Linked DNA regions of Homo sapiens: regions 1 and 3 are each linked to region 2. The links are contacts of gene promoters, found by promoter capture Hi-C in blood cells and fetal thymus (Javierre and others, 2016). All regions are on one chromosome and are shown on one strand. The core of a region is centred on a gene start or on the middle of the fragment in contact, and the rest is flanking DNA. Distances in the headings are between cores, read along the strand shown. Region 1 has its middle 8.0 kb from the start of KRT19. Region 2 holds the start of KRT39 (keratin 39). Region 3 has its middle 6.9 kb from the start of LINC00974.

Region 1 (4,531 bases), core at 379-2,878, 570 kb after region 2:
TGAATAGTGACACTGAAAACCCTAAAGAACTAGTTATTGGGCCGGACATGGTGGCTCACGCCTGTAATCCCAGCACTTTGGGAGGCCAAGGTGGGTGGATCACCTGAGGTCAGGAGTTCGAGACCACCCTGGCCAACATGGTGAAACCCCGTCTCCACTAAAAGTACAAAAATTAGCCAGTCGTGGCGGCGGGTGCCTGTAATCTCAGCTACTCGGGAGGCTAAGGCAGGAGAATTGCTTGAACCCGGGAGGCAGAGCTTGCAGTGAGCTGAGATCGAGCCATTACACTCCAGCCTGGGTGACAAGAGTGAAACTCCATCTCAAAAGAAAAAAAAAAAAAAACTAGTTGTTGGGTACAGTAAATCTAGTTGGAGAGCAACACACTTAATATGATAAATTCATGTCAACATACATTCAAAAGATGACTTATTGCTAAGGTCCATATGAATATGTATGAATATATGCATAGGTAAGGAAGGAATCTGATTGAAGGATGGTAGCCAATAGGAACCTAAGCTTAATCTCTATGGTTTTAAGTTTTATAAGAATGTATTTAGTATTTCTTGTTAATTAAAGTAAATAATTTCTTAAGTAACACTAAACCACAGACATTTAGAACTAGCCAAATTTCATATAGTCAATACCCTCTTCCCCTCCCTGCACTCACCACTGACATCATTGTCTCTGCTCATCCACACCAACCCTAGCCTTGAATTGAGAAATGAGAGAGGAAGTTTTGGAAGAGGGAGAACTAGATGTGAGGAGAAAAGAGACCCTGGAAAGGGTTTCCATCCTCGTGCCCCCACCCCTGGGTCCGCCAGGCTAGTTTTACTTCTTTATGAAACAAGAAGGCAAAACGGACAAGAAGAACTTTGGAAGAGTCTGAGTACAGGGAGAGCTCCTTGCAGCCGATGACTTACACCTGAGGAAAGCCCTCCCACTCTGGTTCTCCAAGGATCCATCGTCTGGAAGCATCTGAAGTTGGCCCCCCTGGGTGTTCTCACAACAGACAACAAGGCTCTCCCAGGTGGTGGCGTGGATCTGTGGGGCTACAGCTGGTGGCAGAGCAGAGGGTATTCTATGCAAGACAGCAGCCACCTTGTGGGCACATGCGAGGCATTCCCCTGGGGACTTTCTGAAATAACTGGAAGATCTTTAGGGGGTGCTGGAGTGGGAGCCACCATGTGGGCCATCAGGCTAGAGCTATTGACCCAGTATTGAGGTATGCCTCAAACCAATCAATGTGATCAAGTATGTAGACACTGGGAATTATGTCTGCCTGGGGGCATTGAGAGCTATTTAATTACAGAGGCATGACCCTTGAGCAAGAAGCTGACAGACCAGTAGGTATTTCTCAGGCAGAAGAGTAAAGAGAATGGGGGCCTGGAAGAGATGAGTAACCGGGCCCAGCTTGGGAGACTACTGGCAATTCAATATGGTTGGGCCATGGCAGGAGGGGAGGGAAGGGGGTCGTTGAGGACAAGGTCAGCTGTGGGGGAGCTGTAAGCAAGACAATGGAAAGTCATTTTCATCAGGGATGGGATGTGGGTTTTGTGTGGCAAATGGGTTGATGTGTCAAGGGAAGCAGGGATGACCAGGGATAAAGAACCCAGTTTAGGGTGTTTTAAAATAGTCCATGCTAGAGATGAGAGGGTCTGAATCTAGCCATAGTGGTGGGCTAGAGAGTAAAGGACAGAGACAAGACCTGCTGTTATGACCTGATGACAAATGGGAGTGATGAAAGAGAGGGACCCTGCACAAAGCACTGCTGTGTGCCAGAGATGCTGGCCAAGTCCTGGACGGTCTCAGCTGAGCAAGATCCCTGCCACTACCATCCCCCAGCCCTGGGACCCATGCCGTCTCTTGGGGAGCCTTGCTCTTGCCCAGATGGGGAAGAATCCTATTCACTGTCTTGAAGGGCCCAGCAGCCAGGACAGGGCAGCGCCGGCCATGTCATGAGCAGCCCAAAGCCGCACTCGGGTCAGGAGGCTGATGCTCTCGGGACTTGAGCCTCCGCACAGCCCAGGTCTGGCCATTTCTGCTGCATCTCAATGGCTTCCTGAGACGTGGAAACCCAGGAAAGGGGGAGGGCAGGGCAAGTAAGCTAGGTCAGGATGGCCCCTGGTGTTCCTCTCCAAGTCCTCAGGGGAGGAAAAACCAGCCCGACCAGAACCAGGGCAGATGGTGTGGGTGGGGAGGGACAGCTGAGTCCTGCAAGGAATAGTCCCAGGTCCAGGGGCCAGCTTCCCCGAGGTGCCACATTCCACAGCCTGGGAAGACAGGGGCCTGCCTCCTCCTCACTCCCTCTCCCTGGAGGTGAGTACGTGAGCAGGCTCACGCTCACTCCACACAGGGAGGCCCCCCCACCGATCTTAGCCAGGGGTGTCTCTCTCAGCTTTTGTCCTGCCCTACTCAATTTGGGCCTCATTTGACGCCTCTGCCCCACTTCAAGCTGTGGCCCATTCCATCTGGACTGGGGCAAGGAGAGTGCCAGACACAGGACAGAGAGAAAGAAAATGTCCGGGTGCCTGCCCGGATTCCCAGCACCCAGGAGAGGGCACCTGGGTGCTTCCCTGCTGCCTTCTGGCTGACAAACTTCCCTCCCATCAGGATCCTGGTGGGCTGTGGTGGCGATGCTGCCTCCTTCAAGAACAGACTCTGGGCAGTCCCAGATGAGCAAGACCCCTCCACAGGCAAAATCTTTCCTTTCAAAACCCATCTGATCCCACGACTCCTGAGGGGAAGCTTCAGCTCTGTACTCCCCCTCACCTGGGAAGGTTCCCGTCCAGAAACTCAAATTGTCCTCCTCGGATGCAGGGGTCTTGGACACTGCAAGCATTTTCACTGAACACCCGCTGTATGCTGGAGGCCACCTCCACCCGGCGTTGGCCAGAGCATCCTCCCTGCCTACCTGCCCCCTCCCTTTACCTGGATGGCAGCCATGCCAGCTCCTCTCAGTTCCATTGGCATGGGTTTCTTCTCCCTGATATGTCCACCCTGACCCGCTCAGGCTGGGTCAGCATTCCCACCCCCACCCACTTGCCCAGCACTTACCACAGCTCTGTCTCCCCATCTAGACTTGGAGCTTCTGTATCTAGCCCCAGGGCTGACTCCAGCACTAGTAAACATTTAATGATTATTTGCCAGAACAGAGCCTTCTCCTGAAGCCCTTTTATTTTTTTTCATTTAACACCAATTATGGTCCACCTTCTGTGTGCCAGGCACCTTCTAGACTCTGGGCTTCAAGAGCAGGGCAGTCTAAAGCTGCCTGCCCTCCTGGGGCTTTCATCTGGGGTAGGGGGCAGAGTAGCAAAGCCAGGGAGGGGGTCAGCAGGGAAGGCCATTGAGGGGTGGTCAGGGAAGGCCTCTCTGAGGAGGTGACACATGAACAGAGACCTGAATGAGGCAAAGGAGCCCTCAGATCCCCAGGGAAGATTATTCCAAGCCAAGGGCACAGCAAAGCCAAAATCCCTAAGGAAGAGGGAGCTTGGTCTGTTCAGGCAACACCAAGAAGTCCCAGTGGTTAAGAGGGGTGAGCCAGAATGACAGTGTGCAGGAGATGAGCCCAGGGGAGGCCAGGACAGAGCACTCGGTGTCTGCGGTCTAATGGAGGCGCTGGCTTTTATCTTGAGAGTAATGGTGCTTTGAGCAGAGGAGCACTGGGACGCCCTCCCCACCCCTGGCTGCTCCCTGTGGAATAGACCGTGGGGCCCAAAGAGCTGGAGATCTAATAAGAGGCTCTAATGGAGTTCAGGTGAGAGACACTGGGGGCTTGTTCTGGGGAGACATCAGAGGACTTCAGGAACAGTGGCCTGGTGCAAGGGATATCCCGAGGGCAGAGCCAGCAGGTCAGGCTGACGATTCATGGGGAGGACAAGGGAAGGAGAGAATCTTGCATGGCTCCTGGTTGAGGTGTGAGCCTCCTATTTGCACTGAGGTCAGGAAGCTGGTCTGGGACGGTGGTTTATCTAATCCACCTCCAGGAAAGGAATCACACCGGGGCCCTCCTAGATCTGTGTTGGAACGCGTCCTGGCAGAATTAGGTTCTACTAACCAAGCAATGACTGTACCCCGATCTCTGCCAGCGCTGATGCCTGCTGAGGGAGGGGAAGGACAAGGGCTGTGTCCACCTGGGCCCTGCCTTCACAGACGGAGCCCACAGTTAGGGGTTGGTATGAAAGAGGCGACTTTCTTTTTTTTTTTTTTTTTTTTCTTTTTTTTTTTTGAGACAGAGTCTTACTCCATCACCCAAGCTGGAATGCAGTGGCGCAATCTTGGCTCAGTGCAACTTCTGCCTCTTGGGTTCAAGTGATTCTCCTGCCTCAGCCTCCTGAATAGCTGGGATTACAGGTGCCTGCCATCACACCTGGCTAATTTTTATATTGTTAGTAGAGGCAGCGTTTCACCATGTTGGCCAGGCTGGTCTCAAACTCCTGACCTCAAGTGATCCACCCACCTCAGCCTTCCAAACTGCTGGGATTACTGGCGTGAGCCACTGCGCCCAGCCAAGAGACAGATGATTTCTAATGAA
Region 2 (4,656 bases), core at 119-2,618:
CAGATATGTAGTAGCAGAATACGTCTGTGCATAACAAACTTAGGTTTGGTGTAGAAACAAACCAAGCAATGTGGAGATGATAACATAAGCATAAAAGGAGAAAAAGGTGGTGATGGTTGAAAAATGGATAAAAACTAAATTGCTTAGAAACTCATTAAAGCAAAATTTATTTTCTCTGATCTCTGTTTCCCTATTTTTATTTAAAAAATGGCAACAACTTGCTGTTAACATCTTTTGGTCCTGAGTCATCTAGTTATAATGGTAGAGTGTATTTCTGGAGAAAGGAAACACCATGAGACTCTTCTTTTTGTTTCTGATTTTTAAAGACATAGTCTCACTTTTGTCTGGGCTGGAGTGCAGTGGCAGGATCTTGGCTCATGGCAGCCTCAACCTCTTGGGCTCAAGTGATCCTCCCACCTCAGCCTCCCAAGTAGCTGGGACCACAGGCATGTGCCACCACGCCCATCTAATTTTTTTTTGTGTGTGTATGTGTGTGTGTGTGTGTGTGTGTGTAAGGATGGAATTTCATCATGTTGCCCAGGATGGTCTAGAACTCCTGGGCTCAAGTGATCTGTCTGCCTCAGCCTCCCAAAGTGTTAGGATTACAGGTGTGCATCACTGCGCCTGACCAGAAATACTATCAGACTCTGAATGCTGCCTCAAGATGACAATTTCACTCAAGAAATTTTTCTATTCTTCAAAAAAATTTTCAGCATCAACTGAACAAAAAATATTAAAGTTTAGCAAATAACTGTTGCTTGGAAACCATTAATTCACAACACGATTAAACAGGTTCTTAGGAATCTTACCTTCTGCTGGAGCTCCTCAATGGTAGTGTAGTAAGACAGGTAATCAGGACATAGAACAGGGAGCTCTTTGTTACTTTCTTCCTGGATTTTAGATTCCAGTTCAGCATTCTCTCGTTCTAGCATTCGCACCTTTTGCAGGTAGTTAGCAAGGCGCTCGTTCAAGATTTGCATGGTCTCCTTCTCATTACTGTTGATGCCTTCACCATACCAGCTGCAGTCATCCAGAGAAAAACGGGCATTGAAGTTGTTCATTAGGTAGATGGGCTTGCGACAAAAGCGAGGAGTGGGTTGGCAGCCCTGGTCCCAGGGAATTCTGAGAACGTGGCCAGCTGGTTGACAGTTGTTGACTGTAAGGCCACCAGGATGGCAGCCGTTGTTAGAAGAGATGGTACTAACATTTGTAATCCTAGAGCAGTTTTGACATGGGGTTGAAGGAGAATTGGTTGTTGTACAGCCCTTGGTGTCCATAGTATGTGTCTGGCTTTAGTTTGTTCCAGGTCTGTGGTCACCAGGATGAAAAGCTCAAGCCACCTCCACAGAGTCTGAATTCCAAGGCTCTTGGTGTTTTCCTCTTTGAAGTGCTTATATAGCCTCTCTTCTACGTGGTGTCACACAGGTGGGATGTTTTCCTTTCTCAGGTTTATATCAAATCCTGTAGGAACATCTTATTAGTCTGCTTTTTACTTGCTTAAGAAGAGTTATTTGTCTCATAAACATGTGCATTTAGGCTGTTAGTAAGTTATTACCCATCATAACTACTACTTGTCTATTGGACCCAGAGCTTCAAATTATGTCTTCAAAAGGAACTGTCCTAACAGCATCCATTATTAAGCAGGTGTGAGTATACTAAGTTCATTACATTCTTGTTGACCTCTCCACTTGGCACTGAGCTTAACCAGGAATGAGTTCATCCTTCTTTTCCTTTCTTCTCTAGAAAAGGGAAACTATTAATGTTTAATAATTATTGGTAAACTTAGAAATCAGAAGTCAATATTTTAGTTTGTTCTGCCCAAATGGTTTCCCCATTTTCAGTGTCAGGACAATGTGAGTATGAATTAAAATGTTAGTCTTTTAAAAGTCTTGTTTTAAAGATAATTGCTAGATTTATGTTTTAGCTTTCCATAAAATGTAATAACATAAAATAAAATATAAATAAAATATGAAATAAAATAAAAGCCATGGGGAAAAGGTAGGGTTTGATTGCTAATAAGAAATTTCTTGGAAAAGAGACTAGCTCTCTTTTGGTTTTCCAAAGTCCACATTTTATAACATTTTTAGTGCTTGGTGTTTGCTTGTGGTATTACATTAGATAAAAATGTATCACAGTGTTGGTTTATACTGGATGTTTAAATAGGATTCATTGAAAGGGGTGTGTTTTCTTTCTGAGGAATACTTACTCAGCATTTTCTTCAGAAAGTTACTTGCTGCTAATCCTTTATGGAGGCTCTAGGGGAACATCATTTTCTTGCCTTTTCCAGCTTCTACAGGCTGTCCACATCCTCAGCTAGTGGCCCCTTTTCATCCTTTTTTTTTTTTCTTGAATTATGAGATTTTTTGTACTTTGAGTTCTGGGATACATGTGCAGAACGTGCAGGTTTGCTACATAGGTATACAAGTGCCATGGTGGTTTGCTGTACCCATCAACCTGTCATCTACATTAGGTATTTCTCCTAATGCTATCCCACCCCTAGCCCCTCACCCCCTCACAGTCCCCGGTGTGATGTTCCCCTCCCTGTGTCCATGTGTGCTCATTGTTCAACTCCCACTTATGAGTGAGAACATGCAGTGTTTGGTTTTCTGTTCCTGTGTGAGTTTGCTGAGAATGATGGTTTCCAGCTTTATTCATGTCCCTGCAAAGGACATGAACTAATCCTTTATTATGGCTGTATAGTATTCCATGGTGTATATGTGCCACATTTTCTTTATCCAGTCCATCATTGATGGGCATTTGGGTTGGTTCCATGTCTTTGCTATTGTGAATAGTGCTGCAATAAACATACATGTGCATGTGTCTTTATAGTAGAATGATTTATAATCCTTTGGGTATGTATCAAGTAATAGGATTGCTGGGTCAAACTGTATTTATGGTTCTTGATCCTTAAGAAATTGCCACACTGTCTTCTGCATTGGTTGAACTAATTTACACTCCCACCAACTGTGTAAAAGTGTTCCAATTTCTCTCCATCCTCTCCAGCATCTGTTGTTTCCTGACTTTTTAATGATTGTCATTCTAACTGGTGTGAGATGGTATCTCATTGTGGTTTGATTTGCATTTCTCTAGTGACCAGTGATGATGAGCTTTTTTCATATGTTTGTTGGCCACATAAATGTCTTCTTTTGAGAAGTGTCTTTCTATATCCTTAGCCCATTTTTTTGATGGGGTTGTTTGTTTTTTCTTGTAAATTTGTTTAAGTTCCTTGTAGATTCTGTATATTAGCCCTTTGTCAGATGGACAGATTGCAAAAATTTTCTCCCATTCTGTAGGAGGCTGAGGCAGAAGAATTACTTGAACCCAGGAGTTCAAGTTCAGGTGGGCAACACAGTGCGATTTCATTTTTAATAAAATAAAATAAAATACAAAATAAAAGCCATGGGGAAAAGGTAGACCGTTATATGTATTATATGTACTTTGGGGACAATTTTGTATTCCCTTTGGTGTGGGGGCAGGGAATGTTGAAACCATACTTCATCCTTTACAGTGGGACGAATTACAAGTAGATCAAAGATTGAGATATGAAAAATAAATAATAAATATGCCCAAAAGGATAATTATTTTATAAATTTGGAGTCAGAAGACTTTTCCAATGATGACTCAAAATTAAGAAGCCGTAAAAAACTGTTAGATTTGACTCCATAAAATAACAGTGTTTGAACTTGTGCTTGGGTGAAAAATACAACCTGTAAAACCAGAAGACAAGATGACAAACTGGGAAACAATATTACAATTACACTCTAGACAGTGACCAAAAGGAAAATACAAAAGGCACTTAAAATAAGAAAAAATGCTCAATGTCACTCATGAAAAGAGAAATGTAAATTTAAATTATACTGAGATATTTTAGTTTTCCACCTATCAAACTGAAAAAAATCAAAGTTTGATAACAGATACATTCACTGCCTATAGCACTCTCATTGCTTGTGGCAATGAAATGTAAATTCATGCAAGTTACTATAATGCTACTACAATTAAAACAGTGTGATATTGGCATAAGGGTTGGAAAGTAGATCAATGAGAAAGAATATAGAGTTTAGAAATAGACTCACATATATGTGGTCAATTGATTTCTGACAAAGATCCCAAAGCAAGTCAATGAGAAAAGGAAAGCTTTTTCAATACTGTTTTTTCAATACTGTTCAATACTTGTCGCTGAATCAAGTGGATACTTGTATAGCCAAAATGAATACATCTTGATCTCTACCTCACGCTACGTATAAAACTTAATTCAGGTTGGATTAAACACTTAATTGTGAAGATTTCAAGTCTAAAGTTTTTAGAAGAAAACTCAGAAGATTATATTCATAACCTTCTGCCATGAGAAGACTTCTAAGCTCATGGAGGACACTATAATAAATAGATTAGACTTCATCAAAATGAAAACCTTTTGTTGATCAGATAAATAGCTAAGAAAGTGAAAAGGCAAGCTACAGCCTGGGTTAAAATATTCTCTCTCTCTCTTCATACACCCACCCCCCAACGCACACATTAGAACACATACATACACAACGTCATATCTTTTGTAACAATGGGAATATATTCTGAGAAATTCACCTTTAGTGATTTTGTTGTTGTGTAAACATCACAGTGGACTTCATGAACCTGGATGGTATAGCCTATAACACACTTAGG
Region 3 (4,335 bases), core at 1,662-4,161, 600 kb after region 2:
TTTGAATTTTTAGTAGAGATGGGGTTTCACCATGTTGACCAGCCTGGTCTCAAACTCCTGACCTCAGGTAATCTGCCCGCCTTGGCCTCCTAAAGTGTGGGAATCATGGACATGAGCCACCGTGCCCGGCTAGGGTTCAGCTTTAAGTAACAGAAACCAATCTCACTTTCTTAACAGAAATAAATTTAATACAAGGCATTAGGTGCTTGCAAAATCATTAGAAGGCTGAAGAAACAGACTCTATATTGGGCTTCTGGGCATGGCTTCCATATTAACACCACAGAAGTGGACCCCAAGGGAACTCTTGGTCTGCCACAATCAGAAAACTTGGGAATCAGGAAGCCACTACCAGACATGTTGGCCCCAGGACCATACAGTATACCTGGCAGACCTACACAAAGAAAAAGCATTTAACTTTTCCCCCTCTACTTCTCTCTCCACTCAACTCATGACTCACAGAGTGCATCTGATTGGAAAAACCTAAGCTATGGCTGTAGGGGAATCTGGAAAAGGGTAGATTTTAGATTACCAGCCTCTTGAGTATAGGAAAGCTCATCAGAAGGATGTTGAAACAGATAGGAGTGAGTCAGTCTTCCATATCTGCCACATTCACTACCCCGCCCCCACAAAAGAAAACTTTAGGTCAGTAAGAGACCTGTCTTGAGCCCCATGATTCCAATTCCAAAATCGGAATTGGCTCATAGACCCAGAGAACTCTGAATGAAGGGGAGGCTTTGAGGAAGGGCCCTGCAGTAACATCACAAGCATGCACTATACGTCCACTGAGAGCCACCCTATGCTCAATAAAATCTTCTGCATTCATCACCTTTCAAACAGTTCATGTGACCTGATTCTTCCTGGACACCAGACAAGAACCTGGGTGTCCAGAAGGCAGGGGTTGCCACCCTGACCTTCCCATAGGAATCTGTGGGTATTTACAAGAATAGCTGACTCCTGAGGGAAGGAAAATACCCAGGCCTTTAGGGATGATTGGACGCTGGCTCCAAACCAATTCTAATCTCTGAAAATGCAGAGCAATACTGTGGTTCCCCAGTTAGAATGGAAGCTCATGTGAGTGTAGGTTGTATCTGTCATCTTGTCACTATTCTTTTCCAGGGAGATCTAAAAACTACATTTACCAGCCTCCCTTGCCACTAAGATGAGCTGAGCAATTTAGGTTCTACTAGTCAGACGCACCCATGTGGACTTGGTTTAGAAGGGAAGTAGGTGAGGAAATGAGGTTCACCTGGGACATCCAGCTTACTGGTATGGACAGCAGAAGCAGCGTGGCTCTGCAACTCCAGCTGAGTCCAGAATTAGTGCAGAATGGACTCAGAAGGCTCCAATCTGACTTGGTGGTTTCATGGTCTTGGCAGAGGCAACAACTCCTTTGGCAGATCCACTCTGCTTTGTCATTTGGAGGGTTCTGGAAAAATCACCCTAGATTCTGTTTCTCCAGCCCTCCTAATGATTCTCTAAGGTATCTAGAGCTCTTGAAAATCCCTTACTTGTTAAAATAGGCAAAGTAGTTTCTGGTAGTTGCAATTGAGAATCTAACCAATATAGAGATCAGATGACAAATGGAGTTTTAGCCCAAGTTTGCTTCTCATGAGCCCAGTGGTATCCCAGACCAATCCTGTGGTTATTTCCCAGTGTCTGGAGTGGACTAGACATAGTCAGTAAAAGGATCCTGATCCTTACCAGTAAGGATTACGTGGTTTAGAAAAAGGACCAGCAACACTACATCTCTAAGGGAATGACAGAGATTAGTGCCACATGAAAGATTTGATGGGCCAGGAGTGGTGGCTCATGCCTGTAATCCCTGCACTTTGGAAGGGCAAGATGGGGAGAGAACACAGGAATGTAAGATCAGCCCTGGCAATAGAGTGAGATCCCTGTCTCTAGTTTAAAAAAAAAAAAAAAAAAAAAAAAAACCTCAAAAATTAGTCTGGCGTGGTGGCACACGCTTGTAGTCCCAGCTACTTGGGAGCCTGAGGTAGGAGGATTGCTTGAACCTGGGAGGTCAAGGCTTCAGTGAACTGTGATTGTACCACTGCCCACCGGCCTGGGCAACAGAGAGAGACCCTGTCTCAAAAAAAAAATGATAAATTTAGGGTTAACTTGCCTAGTTTTTCTGTGCAGAACATGAACAGATGTTAGAGAATAGCCATGAATTATTTTACAATTTATCACATGGTTGTTCCAACAGCAGTCGTTGATCCAGATTGTGTCCCTTTTCTAAAGCAGATCACCATTGACCCTGGCACCTGCTGTGGGAAATTCTTTTTTCTTTATCCCAATAAACAAAGAGTACCAGAATAAATATGCTTTCACCTGCAGAGAAAGCAACACGGTCATTCCCCTTATCCATGGTTTCGCTTTCCACAGCTTCAGTTACCTGTGGTCAACTGTCATCCAAAAATATTAAATGGAAAATTCCAGAAATAAACAATTTGTCAGTTTTGAAGTGTGCTGCCCTGAAGAGCATGATGAAATCTCACACTGCCCCACTCTGTCCAGCCCAGGACAGGAATCATCCCTTTGTCCAGCTCTCCATGCTCTATGCACCACCCACCCACTAGTCGTCGCTTAGTAGCTGTCTCAGTTGTCAGATCAACTGTTGCAGTATTGCCGTGCTTGTGTTCCCTTATTTTACTTAATTACGACCCCAAAGTGCAAGAGCAGTGATGCTGATAATTCAGATTTGCCAAAGGGAAGCCACAAAGTGCTTTTTTTTTTTTCTTAAAAGGAGTTTTGCTCTTGTTTCCCAGGCTGGAGCACAATGGCGTGATCTCGGTTTACCTCAACCTCTGCCTCCCGGGTTCAAGCGATTCTCCTGCCTCAGCCTCCCAAGTACCTGAGATTACAGGCATGCGCCACCATGCCTGGCTAATTTTGTATTTTTGGAAGAGACAGTGTTTCTCCATACTGGTCAGGCTGGTCTCAAACTCCTGACCTCAGGTGATCCTCCAGCCTTGGCCTCCCAAAGTGCTGGGATCACAGGCATGAGCCACCGCGCCCAGCCAGCAAAATGCTTTCTTTAAGAGAAAAGATGACAGTTCAAAACTTACTACGGAAAGAAAAAAACCATACGCTGAGGTTGCTAAGATCTACAGTATGATAAGATATTTTGAAAGAGAGAGACCACATTCAAATAATTTTTATTACAGTATATTGTTATAACGATTCTATTTTATTAGTTATTGTTGTTAATCTCTTGGTCTGCCTAATTTATAAAGTAAACTGTATCTTAAGTATGAATGTGTAGGAAAAAGCATAGTGTAGATAGATTTAGGTGCTATCCACAGTTTTGGGCATCCAGTCAGGATCTTTGAATGTATTCCCTGTGAAATAATGAGCAACTACTGGGCATCTTTTCCAGGATGTGCAGAGAATCAAACTTGGAGGGTATGCAAACAGAAAAATTCCCCAAATCACACTCAAGGATTGCTCTAGGAACACACCACTGCTGTCACTTCTGGCCACCAAAATTGAAGCTCAAACTATGGATGATGGGCACTGCATGTCTTTGCCAGAGCCGCTGCTATTGCTTCCTCAAAAAATCACATATCTCTGCCCAACCTTGTTCCTGCCATAAAAAATTCCACTCAGCACCTCCTTTAAATCAAAATCAAAGTCCTTCACTCCAATGGGGTGCCATGGTTAAAAAAAAAAAAAAAACGTCTTGTGCGGGCGCACCTGAGTGGCAGGGCTGTCAGGGGCCCATGCCCTAGATGCAGGTGAGCTCGGAAAAGCAAGTTTCTGACCTCTCCCTTGGGGAGCTTCACACTTAAGGTGGAGAATTTCCCAAATTGAGGTAGAGAAAAGATACATAAAATGGGCCAGGCCTTGTGGCTCACACCTGTAATCCCAGCACTTTGGGAGGCCGAGGCAAGTGGATCACCTGAGATCAAGAGTTCAAGACCAGTCTGGCCAACATGGTGAAACCCCCGTCTTTACTAAAAATACAAAAATTAGCTCAGCGTGGTGGCAGGTGCCTGTAGTTCCAGCTACTCAGGAGACTGAGGCAGAAAATCGCTTGAACCCGGGAGGTAGAGGTTGGATTGAGCTGAGATCGTGCCACTGCATTTCAGCCTGGACGACAGAGTGAGACTCCGTCTCAAAAAATAATAATAATAATAAATAAAATAAATAAAAAGATATGTAAAATGGTAGATGAGGAAGACAGCAGGTAGCAGAAAAAGAACCAGAGAAGAGTAAACAGTTGCATATTAACAGCGGAGCGCTAGAAAAGAGATCACAGACTCTCACTGCTCAGGTGTCTTGCTAGAGCCACCTTTGACCCAGAGACACTGATGACCTGCCTGCTCCCAT

The links. The method cuts DNA at HindIII sites, captures the fragments that hold promoters and counts their contacts. A CHiCAGO score of 5 or more calls a contact.
Region 1: a contact is called between a fragment that was not itself captured here and the fragment with the promoter of KRT39 in region 2, in 4 of 17 cell types (total CD8 T cells, naive CD8 T cells, activated CD4 T cells and 1 more). The highest score is 7.6, in total CD8 T cells.
Region 3: a fragment that was not itself captured here is called in contact with the fragment with the promoter of KRT39 in region 2 in 1 of 17 cell types (total CD4 T cells); the score reaches 5.6 in total CD4 T cells.

What each region holds. Positions count from the first base shown.
Region 1 is chr17:41,534,044-41,538,574 of GRCh38, forward strand. No RefSeq gene overlaps it. Among named protein-coding and RNA genes, the nearest start is that of KRT19, 8.0 kb to the left of the region's middle. The HindIII fragment of the contact is 2,229 bases long and covers 515-2,743 here.
Region 2 is chr17:40,965,580-40,970,235 of GRCh38, forward strand. KRT39 (keratin 39) reads right to left here and starts at 1,369. Exons shown (of 7, transcript NM_213656.4): 1 at 810-1,369. The coding sequence starts at 1,277. The region is part of intron 1 of LOC107985072 (a long non-coding RNA gene); the gene reads left to right. The HindIII fragment of the contact is 5,044 bases long and covers 1-4,132 here.
Region 3 is chr17:41,559,205-41,563,539 of GRCh38, forward strand. No RefSeq gene overlaps it. Among named protein-coding and RNA genes, the nearest start is that of LINC00974, 6.9 kb to the left of the region's middle. The HindIII fragment of the contact is 7,476 bases long and covers 1-4,335 here.